Linked DNA regions of Homo sapiens: region 1 is linked to region 2. Evidence: promoter capture Hi-C in 16 types of primary human blood cells and fetal thymus (Javierre and others, 2016). All regions are on one chromosome and are shown on one strand. Each heading gives the region's core, a stretch centred on a gene start or on the middle of the fragment in contact. The rest is flanking DNA. Distances are from core to core; before and after follow the strand shown. Region 1 has its middle 81 kb from the start of UBE2E1. Region 2 holds the start of UBE2E2 (ubiquitin conjugating enzyme E2 E2).

What was found. The method cuts DNA at HindIII sites, captures the fragments that hold promoters and counts their contacts. A CHiCAGO score of 5 or more calls a contact.
Region 1: a contact is called between a fragment that was not itself captured here and the fragment with the promoter of UBE2E2 in region 2, in 4 of 17 cell types (endothelial precursors, M2 macrophages, fetal thymus and 1 more). The highest score is 6.4, in endothelial precursors.

The regions. Positions count from the first base shown.
Region 1 is chr3:23,722,336-23,728,338 of GRCh38, forward strand. No RefSeq gene overlaps it. Among named protein-coding and RNA genes, the nearest start is that of UBE2E1, 81 kb to the right of the region's middle. The HindIII fragment of the contact is 5,611 bases long and covers 894-6,003 here.
Region 2 is chr3:23,199,573-23,205,225 of GRCh38, forward strand. It overlaps UBE2E2 (ubiquitin conjugating enzyme E2 E2), which reads left to right and starts at 3,755. Exons shown (of 6, transcript NM_152653.4): 1 at 3,755-3,892. It overlaps UBE2E2-DT (UBE2E2 divergent transcript), which reads right to left and starts at 3,421. Exons shown (of 2, transcript NR_136176.1): 1 at 3,292-3,421. RefSeq lists enhancers at 2,428-3,403, 2,816-2,875 and a silencer at 3,226-3,915. The HindIII fragment of the contact is 2,247 bases long and covers 3,057-5,303 here.

The sequences.
Region 1 (6,003 bases), core at 2,449-4,948, 520 kb after region 2:
TGCCTACATGCAGTGTACAAATTACAGTGTTTAGGGGAATGTTGACATTTGTTATACTAGTTGTGTGACACTTCTCAGTGAGTAAACTCATCTAATCATTTGTAAATCTCAGAACTGTTGACTTCTGTATTCAGAAACAATTTATTTATTAACTCTGAAAAATGTTCAGTTGTTTTCAGAGAAGAGTTCAGTCTTATATGTAATTATTCTGGAGAAGAGCAACATTTCTTTAAAATGTTTGATACAAGGCCGGGCGCAGTGGCTCACGCCTGTAATCCCAGCACTTTGGGAGGCCGAGGTGGGTGGATCACGAGGTCAGGAGATCGAGACCATCCTGGCTAGCACGGTGAAACCCCTTCTCTACTAAAAATACAAAAAATTAGCCGGGAGCGGTGGCGGGCGCCTGTAGTCCCAGCTACTCGGGAGGCTGAGGCGGGAGAATGCCGTGAACCCGGGAGGCGGAGCTTGCAGTGAGCGGAGATCGCGCCACTGCACTCCAGCCTGGGTGACAGAGAGAGACTCCGTCTCAAAAAAAAAAAAAAAAAAAAAAAAAAAAAAAAAAAAATGTTTGATACAAATATCAAATGATTCTCCAAATATATGTTGGAGAATATAATTTCCCTTTGAAAATGTTTTCTGAAGACTGGAAAATTAACTTGCATAATGTCTCCATCCAACAAGTCATTAATTTACAGCCTTCCAAACACGTTTGTCTGAATCTTAAAAGTAACTGGTTAACTTTCATTTTTCCTCTCATAACTGTGACAAAATCCCTACTCGTGGCTACCAATGGCTGGAGGATGCACTTCATACATTTCTCAGAGTCTACATGTATTTAGATCTACACAGAAAAATTGAAAGATCCCAAATTTTATTTCCGTGTAATACCACAAAGCTTCTTTTGGGTGAAACAGTGCTTTTTCTGGTGGTCCTCTTGTAAGTGCAAATTTGCCTGAGAGACTGTGTAAGCAGATTGCTGTCCTACCAGTTTGCTTTCCTTAGCAATGTCCAGGATGACAGATGGACAGGGCCTCGCTGCTTCATGGATTATTGTCAGTGAACAAAGGAGAAAAGGCAAACTTTGGCTTATGAATCAACTGGCTGCATGAAACAGGAAAACCTAAGAATTACCAAAAATAATAGTAGCCTCTTTCTTCCTTCTCTAAAGAAAGTTTCGAGGCAGGCATGCCGGGAGCGGTGGCTCAAGCCTGTAATCCCAGCACTTTGGGAGGCCAAGGTGGGCGGATCACCTGAGGTCGGGAGTTCGAGACCAACCTGACCAACATGGGGAAACCCTTTCTCTACTAAAAATACAAAAATTAGCTGAGTGTGGTGGCATGTGCCTGTAATCCCAGCTACTCGGGAGGTTGAGGCAGGAGAATCGCTTGAACCCGGGAGGTGGAGGTTGTGGTAAGCCAAGATCGCACCACTGCACTCCAGCCTAGGCAACAAGAGCGAGACTCTGTCTCAAAAAAAAGAAAAAGAAAGTAAGTTTGGAGGCAGGCATCCAGGGTTGGTGGGACCTAGGTTTCATCAGTCTTTCTGCTGCTGCATTCTAGCATATGGCTTCCATCCTTCAGATTGCTTCATGGTCCAAAATGGGCTTCTGGAGTTATAAGCCAGAAAAAGAAGGAAAGTAAAGAAAAAGAGAGGCCTTCCATGCTAAGTTAGCTCTCTTTAGACTGCCTTCCTGAAAGGCCCACTGAATTCAGCTTTCTGGGCCACAAGTCACATGGTCATATCTAGCAGCAAGGGAGGCTGGGAGATTAATATTTTATTTTTGGTCACAATGTGGCTAGCAAGTAAAGAGGAAGTAAGGAGAAGTAGAGAAGTGATACTGGAAGTAGCCACTAACCATCTCTGCATCTGGCAAGACATGAAGGCAGGACTAGCCTTGGAACAATGTCTGGGGCTCAAGTTTTTCTAGGCCCTTAAGAGAATGCTTGCTCCAACTAGGCTTTTCTGCTCTGTTTAGGCTTTTTCTGGGTAGAGGGCAATCCTAAGGACTGGAATAGCCTAGTTCTCACAACTGTGTTTATTTGTCCAGAAGCCTCAGGCCCAAAATCAATAAAAATGCACAAGGATCCACTGAGCACACTTCATATGGGCTGCACTGATGTAGACATAACAGTGGAGCCAGGGTGATGGGAAGCTCTTTCCTGAGTGGCTTTCAAGCTAAGAGGGTAGCTTAGAACCATGTTTCTCAAACTACTTTCTTCCAGTTTATAGCAGACCACTATGTGTTCCTACTGTGATAACCATAGGAGTTCAGCAATACCCAGCCTCGTCTATTTCTTGTTCAAAAAGATGAGTCCTCTAATCATACACTTGGGTGTCACAATGTCAACTTGCTATATATATTTTATATATATATATATATATATATATGTTCTATATGCCTGTTCTCAGTTTCTCGGGGGAAAGGATCAACCTCATCCATTTGGGCGGCTATAACAAAAATACTATAAACTGAGTGGCTTATAAACAATATTTATTGCTTACAGTTCTGGAGGCTGGGAGTCCAAGATCAAGGCACTGGCAGATTCGGGTGTCTTGTTCATAGATGGCGCCTTCTTGCTGCGTCCTCATGGGGAAGAAGGGGGTCTCACTCTGTTGAGGGCACTACTCCCATCATAAGGACTCTGCCTGTGGGATCTAATCATCTCTTAAAGGCCCCACTTTCTAATATTACTGCACTGGGGGATAGGTTTCAACATACGCATTTTTCAGGGGGGGACATTCAGACCACAGCTCCCATTGAAACAAACTCCTCAAACTTTTCTAACTTTTCACTTGTGGTTTCAAATGACGTTCGAGACCTGTGGGTGTCAGGTGGAGCCTGAAGTCAATTTGTTATACAGACATGTTTTCATTATAATGATATTGGTGGGAAGACACTGTGCATCAGTTGATGATAAGAAAAAATCACATTTTAAAAAAAAGTTTAATTGAGTTATAATTTACATATACTAAAATGCATAGCTTTTGAATGTATATTTTGATGGCTTTTGATATATATGCTTGAGTAATCATCTCCTTAATCAAGACAGGTAAGCAAGGACCAGGCTGGGGGCTCATGCCTGTTACCCAACACTTTGAAGGGCAGAGGCAGGAAGATTGCTTGAGGCCAGGCCTTGAAGACAAGCCTGGGCAACATAGTGAGACCCTGTCTCTACAAAAACATTTAAAAATTAGCCTGCTGGTGGTGTTCATCTTTAGTTTTAGCTGCTCTGAAGGTTGAGGTGGGAGGATCACTTGAGCCCAAGAGCTTGAGGTTACAATGAACTTGATTGTGACACTGCACTCCAGCTTGGGCAACAGAGCAGGACCCTGTCTCTAAAAAAAGAAAGAAAAAGGCCAGGTATGGTGGCTCACACCTGTTATCCCAGCATTTTGGGAGGCCGAGGTGGGCAAATCACGAGGTTACGAGTTCAAAACCAGCCTGGTCAACATGGCGAAACCCCATTTCTACTAAAAATACAAAAATTAGCCAGGTGTGGTGGTGCACACCTGTTATCCCAGATACTTGGGAGGTTGAGGCAGGAGAATTGCTTGAACCTGGGAGGCGGAGGTTTCAGTGAGCCGAGATCACGCCACTGCACTCCAACCTGGGCAACAGAGCAAGACTCCTTCTCGAAAAAAAGTTTTAAAAAGAAATAAAGAGAGAGAGAGGAGGGAGGGAGGGGAGGGAGAGAGGGAGGGAGAGAAAGAGAGAGAGGAAGGAAGGAAAGGAAGGGAAGGGAAAGGGAAAGGGAAAGGAAAGAGAAGGAAAGGAAAGACCCGGCCAGGCACGGTGGCTCACGCCTGTAATCCCAGCACTCTGGGGGGCTGAGGTGGGTGAATCACGAGGTCAGGAGTTCACAACCAGCCTGACCAACATGGTGAAACCCCATCTCTACTAAAAATACAAAAATTAGTTGGGCATGGTGGTGCATGCCCGTAATCCCAGCTACTCAGAAGGCTGAGGCAGGAGAATTGCTTGAACCCGGGAGGCAGAGCTTGCAGTGAGCTGAGATTGCAGCACTGCACTCCAGCCTGGGTGACAGAGCAAGACTCTGTCAAAGAAACAAAAGAAAAGAAGAGAAAGGAAGACAGAAAGAAAGAAAGGAAGGAAGGAAGGAAGGAAGGAAGGAAGGAAGGAAGGAAGGAAGGAAGAAAGAAAGAAAGAAAGAAAGAAAGAAAGAAAGAAAGAAAAAAGAAAGAAAAGAAGGAGGAAGGGAGGGAGGAAAGAAGGAAGGAAGGAAAGAAGGAAGGAAGATATGGAAGCAGAATGGTGGCCATGATAGCCAGAATCTGCTAAGGAGTATGTAATAGATCACTTGCCAAAAAGAGATAGGGAATACTCCATCACCCCAGAAAGCACCTTGATGTCCCTCTTTAGGCATCTCTCCTGAACTTGTGTGTCTGCTCCTGAGGCAGCCAGAGGTACCCACTGTTCTCAATTCTGTCGCCATGGCTTGCTCAGGTTTTTTCCAGAACTTCTAGAACTTCCCTAGAATTTCATATAAGTAAAATTGCAGTTTGCAATCAACAAACTCTTTTTTTCTTTCTTTTAAAAGATGGGGGTGTCACTATGTTGTCCAAACTGGACTTGAACTCCTAGCTCAGGGGATCCGCCCTCCTGAGTACCTGAGACTACAGGTATGCACCACCACACCCAGCCTCACCAAACTCCTTTGGTTCCGGTTTCTTTCATTCAACATAATGTTTTTGAAAATCATTCATGTTTCTATATGAGTAGTTGATTTTTGTTTTGATTGCTGAGTAAAATTTCATTGTATGAAACACCGCACCACAACTTGTTAACCCACAAATAGTGCCTTGCATGTATTGAAACTTCACTATTGCCAGACACTGTGTTAAGCACTTCCCAATGTCTCATAACCACCAGAGGAAAGGTGTTGTGATGGCCCTTTGTGGAGGTTTTGCCTTCTTCTGTTCAGTATCAGATCTCAGTCTTATTAGCAGCTGGATCTGTCTTCCTGTGTGGTTTTGGTGCAAAGTAAAATGCAAGAAATTAGATCCTCCTTCTTGATGGGAGTGACCTTGGCCTGGCCAGTCTGATGCTGTCTTCAGGAACTCTGGAAGCTAAGTGAGTGACATAAGGACCCAATGCAGGGGGAACTGCAGGGCACAAAGAAGATTCTTTCTGCCACGTGACCTCTGCCGTGACTCCTGCCTGGCCTTCTGAGCAGCCTAGCTTCCTGCCAGTTTTCTACTCCTCCAGGCTTCCCTCAGTTCCAATAATTTCTTTTTTTTTTTTTTTTTTTTTGAGACAGAATCTCTCTCTGTTGCCAAGGCTGGAGTGCAGTGGCGTGATCTCAGCTTACTGCAACCTCTGTCTCCCAGGTTCAAGCAATTCTCCTGCCTTAGCCTCCTGGGTAGCTGGGATTACAGGCATGCACCACCACACCCGGCTAATTTTTGTATTTTTAGTACAGACAGGGTTGCGCCATGTTGGCCAGGTTGGTCTTGAACTCCTAACTTTGCGATCCACCCGCCTCGGCCTCCCAAAGTGCTGGAATTACAGGCGTGAGCCACTGCGCCCAGCCTCCCTTTTTGTTTAATGTAGGCAGACTTGGTTTCTGTACTTGCATACTAGGCCATTACTGATATACTAGGTATTATCCCCATTGTACAGATTAAAAAATAAAGCCCAGGGTCAGTGTGGTCAGTGACTCTCCTGGGGTCATACAAGCTACTAGGTAGCAGGATAAATAAGGATTAGAACCAGGCCGGGCATGGTGGCTCATGCCTGTAATCCCAGCACTTTGGGAGGAGGAGGCAGGAGGATAGCTTGAGCACAGGAGTTTGAGACCACCCTGGCAAAAATGGAAAAACCGTGTTTCTATTAAAAATACAAAAATTAGCTGGGCATGGTGGTGCGTGCCTGTAATTCCAGCTACTTGGGAGGCTAAGATGAGAGGATCACCTGAGTGTGGGAGGCGGAGGTTGCAGTGAGCCAAGATTGCACCACTGCACTCCAGCCTGGGAGACAGAGTA
Region 2 (5,653 bases), core at 2,505-5,004:
TGCAGTTAAGATGTTGATCAGGGCTTCATTATCTGAAGGCTTAGCTAAGGCTGAAGGATCTGCTTTAAAGCTTACACATGTGGATGTTAGCGGGTCTTATTTTTTAGTCACATGGGCCTCTCCACAGGGCTGCTCACAATATGGCAGCTAGCTTTCCCCAGAGTCAGTGACAGCAAAGAGAGAGAGAGAGCATCAGTGTGTGCGCAACCAAGATGGAAGCCCTAAACTAATCTTGGAAGTGACATACCCTCCTTTCTCACAGCATTACACCAACCCTAGCATGACGTAGGAGGGGATTACACAAGGGTGTGAATACCAAGAGGCAGGGATCAGTGGGACATCTTAGAGACTGATTACCATACTCAGGCAACGTCTAGGGGTGAGAGGAGCAGCCACACTTCTATGTTTGCATCTTAATTTACATGAATGGCACCCCCTGATACTTTGCAGTGTACAAAATACACGATCATACATAGTGGTCCAGGTAGCAGTTCCTGAACAAATGGGGAAGTCAGGGGAATTTGTCCTCAGTACACTTCTATTCCCTGCTAGAATTTCATTTATTTATTTATGAAACAAACATTTTTTTAAAGCACCTGGTCGTACCTTTGCGTTGGTACTGAACTAGGTAGGTAATGGGGTTGCAGTTCTATTGGAGTTTCAATTTTCCTACACCACTGTTGCCCTTAAGTATCCAAAACATTCGGGGTGACTACAGCCTCCTTCAAGCCAGACAGTATGCAACAGATCATTGTTTTCTATCCCATTCTTTGGAAAACCTGAGCTAATATGATGTTTCTTTCAAAGGGTATAATATAAATATGTAATAACCCCTGATAATTGGGTGCCTAACAAGAACAGAAGTTGCCTAAATAAGTAGCAGGGCTCTACCAGTATAATGCTTCTGCTCAAATTCAGCCCAGTTCCCCTGAGAGAGGTCTTTTCTATCACCCATCCAGTCAAACTGGAAAACTAACTGTGGCTCTACTTACTCACGAAGTTGGCAGTAACAACGTTTTAAGAAGGACCCTTCAAAAAACATTCCAATTTGCCAGTTGCAGGGGGAAAAAACGTAGGCTCTAAATTAATGATCAGAAATAAGAAATGTAAGAAAGGAGTGAGTTCATGACGACAGACTGATGGACCAGAGCAGAAAATATAAGGAAGATGAGCTATTTGTCTTGGAGACCAAGTTTGCACCGCAGAAGAGAGAAATAGAGAAAATCAAATAAATATTTATGTCTGTAACACCAGACTCATGGTAAAGTGTCCTTAAGTTCACAGACTCCAGAGCCAAACTGCTGATTTCGAGTCCCAGCTCTGCTCCTCACTAGCTATGTGACTGTAGGTGAGTGACTTAATCCCTCCGTACCTCAGTATTCTCATCTGTACAGTGGGGCTGATTGGATAAAACCAACCTGTGTGGTGGTTGTGACCTAGTATAACTAAAGTGCTTAGCATGCTGCCTAGCACAAATTAAGAACACGGTAAGTACTAATTATTGAAGAAATTAGAAACAATACCTATTGTGTCATCAACTGAAAGAGACCAATTTCTTTCACTCGGTCATTATCTATTGAATATATACAGCACTGAACCCCAGACGACGAAATCCTTTTTCTCAAGGTGCTTTTACGTGGGAGGGCTGGGAGAGGGAGGAAAAAGAAAGCAGAAGGGGGAAACTAATAAATAAGTAAAAAAATGTATTATGTCAGGTGGTGATCATGGAGAAAAAGCAGAGGATGTGGATAGGAAGTTCTGGGGGAGGAGTGGGAGGAAAGAATGTTCTAGAGATAGGAAATAGTAAGTACACAGGTCTTGAGGCTGAGGAATGCTTGGTGTGTCCATAACTGCAAGGCCGGTGTGGCTGGAAGGAGACGAGGATGGAGTGAAATCGTACAGCTTGAGGTCAGGGGAATCCTGGCTGGGAATGGTGGGCACATCATGCAGGCCATGTATCCATATTTTGCACTTTGGCTGTTGCTCTATGATGGGAAGCCACTGGAATTTTTGAGAAGAAGAGAGACATAATCTAATCTTTGTTTTAAAGGACAGTCGGCTGTGTGTAGGTGTTGGGGAGGGAGGAGGCGGAGAGTGGGAGGTAGAAAGATCAGGTAGGAGATAATTATTGAGAGATGATGCCTTAGACCAGGACATTAGCAGTGGGGAGGGGAGTGAGACGGAGTGGACATTTTCACCATATATTTGTGAAAACAGAGTCAACAGAATTTGCTGACGAATGTGATGCTGAGTGTACAACAGAGAAGGTTCAGACATAGGGAAGTTCTGAGGACAAGGATTTTTTTCTTTTATTCAATGTCATATATCTACCACCTAGACAGTGCCTGGTATCAATAAATATTCCTTGAATAAATGAAAAGGGTAACTGATTTGTATTAAACCCATTTTGAACTTAGTAAATAGCAGTTAAAACATCTACAGTCAAATGAAGTACTGTAGCAACCATAATTTCAGCAATTAAGCAGTGAAAGATCTTCCAATCCTTTCCTCCACAAAGATAGAAGTTAATTTTGCTGCATCCCTGGACACCCCGTTGCCAACGACCCAGCATTCCGTTGGTAAGTGAGGCTGGAGGTTGGAGTGGGAGAAATTTCGTGGAAGCTAAGTTCGCAAAGCAGGTACGTTTTTTTTTTTTTTTTAAACGGTTATTTGGGATGAGGAGTACAACGGAACCTAATGTTCCCTCATGCCACCTACAGCACTGCTACTGTTCCCATATCCTTCAACTGGGCATGAAGGCAGCTTCCCACTCACTCTGACAGTGGTGCACCCTGTACCCCCACCCCTCTCTTCAATACCCCAGGGCTAAACGGCCCGAAGCTCCTCTCTACCGGCTGGTGCGCATTCTGGGCCAGGGCGAGCCAAAAGGCAGAAGGGCCTTCGTGCTGCAGTGTCTGGTGAAGACTCAGGCTTAGCCTGGAAGAAGTTTCCAGGCCAACGTGAAGTTTTCCTGTCTTGGGTACATGCGAGCCCCACGCGTCTGCGAGTTTGGGTTAGTGTGTCAACAGGGTCAGTCCCCGTATCTACTTTGCGAAAGCTTCGAGGCGAGCGTGAAGTCAAGGGCTGCGGTGGATGGGGGTAAAAGGCCTCCTCGTCCCACTGCCTGCACCGTCTTGGGGTAACCCCTAACCCCCAGCCGGCGTTTCCCTTTAATGCGCGTGCCCGGCAAGGTCCTCGCGTCCCCTCCCCTCAAGCCACCCCGTCAGCCTCGGTTTCCCCCACTTCTCCCCGTCCTTGTCGTTCCTTCCCCGTGGGACGCCCCTCGCTCACCCCCGTCAGAGCCCAGTCTGCGCGCGGGACCCAGCTGTCACTTTACTTTTCCTCGCCGCCTCCCCACCCCCTCTCCCGACCGGCGGGGCAGCCCGCCCGGGCGCGCTCCCGCCCCCGCCCCCTCGCGGCCGCGCGCCGGAGGAGGAGGGGCGGGGGGAGGAGGGAGGCGCGCGGCGCCGCATGGCCGACGTGGGGCTCGCGCTCTCGCGGTCTCTCCCGGGCGGGCGCGCAGGCACGCGCACTCGCGGGTGCGCGCGCGGACGGCCGGGCGGCGGCGGCTCCCGGAGGTGGTGGCTTCACTTTCCAGGACTCAGGGGCAGCCACAGCGACAGCCGCGGGCAGCAGCCTCAGGAGCCGGAGCTGGAACGGCCGGGGGCGGCGGCAGCGGCGGCGCTGAGGGTGAGTCCGGGCGGGCGCGAGCGCGGCGGGGACAGGCGTGGTCGGGTGCGTGGTGCGTGGGTCCGGCTTTCGGTGACTAGACGGTCCGCAGGGGACATCCCGTCCCTGGGGCCTCCCCAGTCTCCCTCCCCCTCGCGCCTGGGCAGCTCTCTCCCAGGGCTTCGGCTCGAGCCTGCGACCTGCACGGACACCCCCCCCTCAGGTATTCGCTCGGGCCGCGCCGGTGCCTCCCCTCCTCGGGCGTCCTCCCTCTCGCTGACGTCCTCCTCACTCCCCCGACCTCCCCTCCGCGTCGCAGGTCTCTGCTTACACCGCTCGTGCCCTAGTTCCCTCCTTCCTCGCTCCCCGTGCCCGGTTCCCTACGCCCCCTCCCGCGAGCCTCCTGCCCCCGTTTCTCGCCCTTTCTACCCCTCCCCCTTCTTCCCATCCCCCCCTTCTGCCTCTTCTCTCCCTGTCCTCCTTCTACCCCCTTCCGTTCTCAGTTCCCCATCCTTCTCAACCCTCCCAGCGCTTTCCTTCTCCTAGCCGCATCCTGGAACTAAGTCTTTTCAAAAGTACAGGATAAATGTCACGGTGGAAAGTGCCCGGCTTGATCTTTTGCTATTTTCCCTAATTGCATAATTGCTGCACATGGTGTGTCTCCTGGCGAGTGCCGGGTTTGGCTCCTTCGCCGCCGCACCCCGGTGGCCCGCCCGGAGAAGACCTTGTGGGGTATATTTGTGTGTGTCCTGGTGAGGGGTGTGTGTTGTATTGGTCTTTTGTGATGCCTGGCGCTTGTCACAGTTTGGAACCGAAGCCCATTTTTCTCTGGTCTCTTCTCTGCAGCCCCCACTGGCCTGGTTTGAAACTGGATTCCCTCTGTCCTCTCCCCCTTCCCGCCCACCCCACTTCTCCCCCTCTTTTCTCCGATCTCTCTCATAATGTTTTGATCTTTTTGCCCTTTACCATTTCTAATGAAGATAAAGCGTGGCTTCTTGTGGCTTTTTTCCCCCACGACCAACCAGAAATGTCCAATCCATCTTCCCTTAAGGAAATTAAGGCTGCTTTAGAAAGACATCATCCTGTGCTCGGTGGCTGTTAGACCCATTTGCATGTTTTCAAGATTCATCGTTTTGTATTGTGTATTCTTGAGAGTCTACTAAAATATTTTTATTTAAAAGTACGAAAGGAAGTGCTAGGGTTTACCCTCAAAGTATCTCGCGGTTCTAAAGGATTTTACGCTCTTCTTAGTTTTTAATCCCTGATTTCTTTAAAAAGTATGTTTCTAGATATGTGATAATTCAGTCTGGACTTTGTGAATCTAAATATTTGCCTTTACTACGGCAATTTGGATGCTCCTTGGCTCTTTGGAATTCTGTATGTGGGCTGACGCTGAAATAGAGTGTTTTCATATAATGCCATACCCCATTCTCTTTCCCCTGCAGCACCTTTTACCCCCAAATCAGGTGTTCCACTGTTATTTTCTGCATAAATGTCTTTGCAGTTAAATTTAAAGCTGGATATTGCTGTGTGCATATACTATATATTTATTTTACATTTTAGAAAAGTTTAGAAACATGAGTAGGAAGACAGCAAGACATATATGACAGAATTAAACGCTTTCCTGTTATAAAAGCTTAAATGAACACTTGGTTTTGCAGTTTTATACTAGTAGATACTGTTATAAGGCTTACCTGGGTAGTAGGCTGGATTTATGGAATGACTATAGTTGCCTTTATGTAGTCAGTAATATTTCAAGCCAAATCATTTCATTTTTATGGAACATGTGAGTTTCATTCACTGTATGTTGCTAATTTCCAGGACTGTAATTACAACATAGGGTACATAGCTAATACAAGCTTAGACAGTTTGTGTTGAAGAAGTAACAATATGTAAGCCTCTTAATATAGTTTTAGGAAGGACTACTTATTTTATGGTTAAAAATTAAATTTTACTTTGAGTTATGAAGTAAGCGTATTTATCT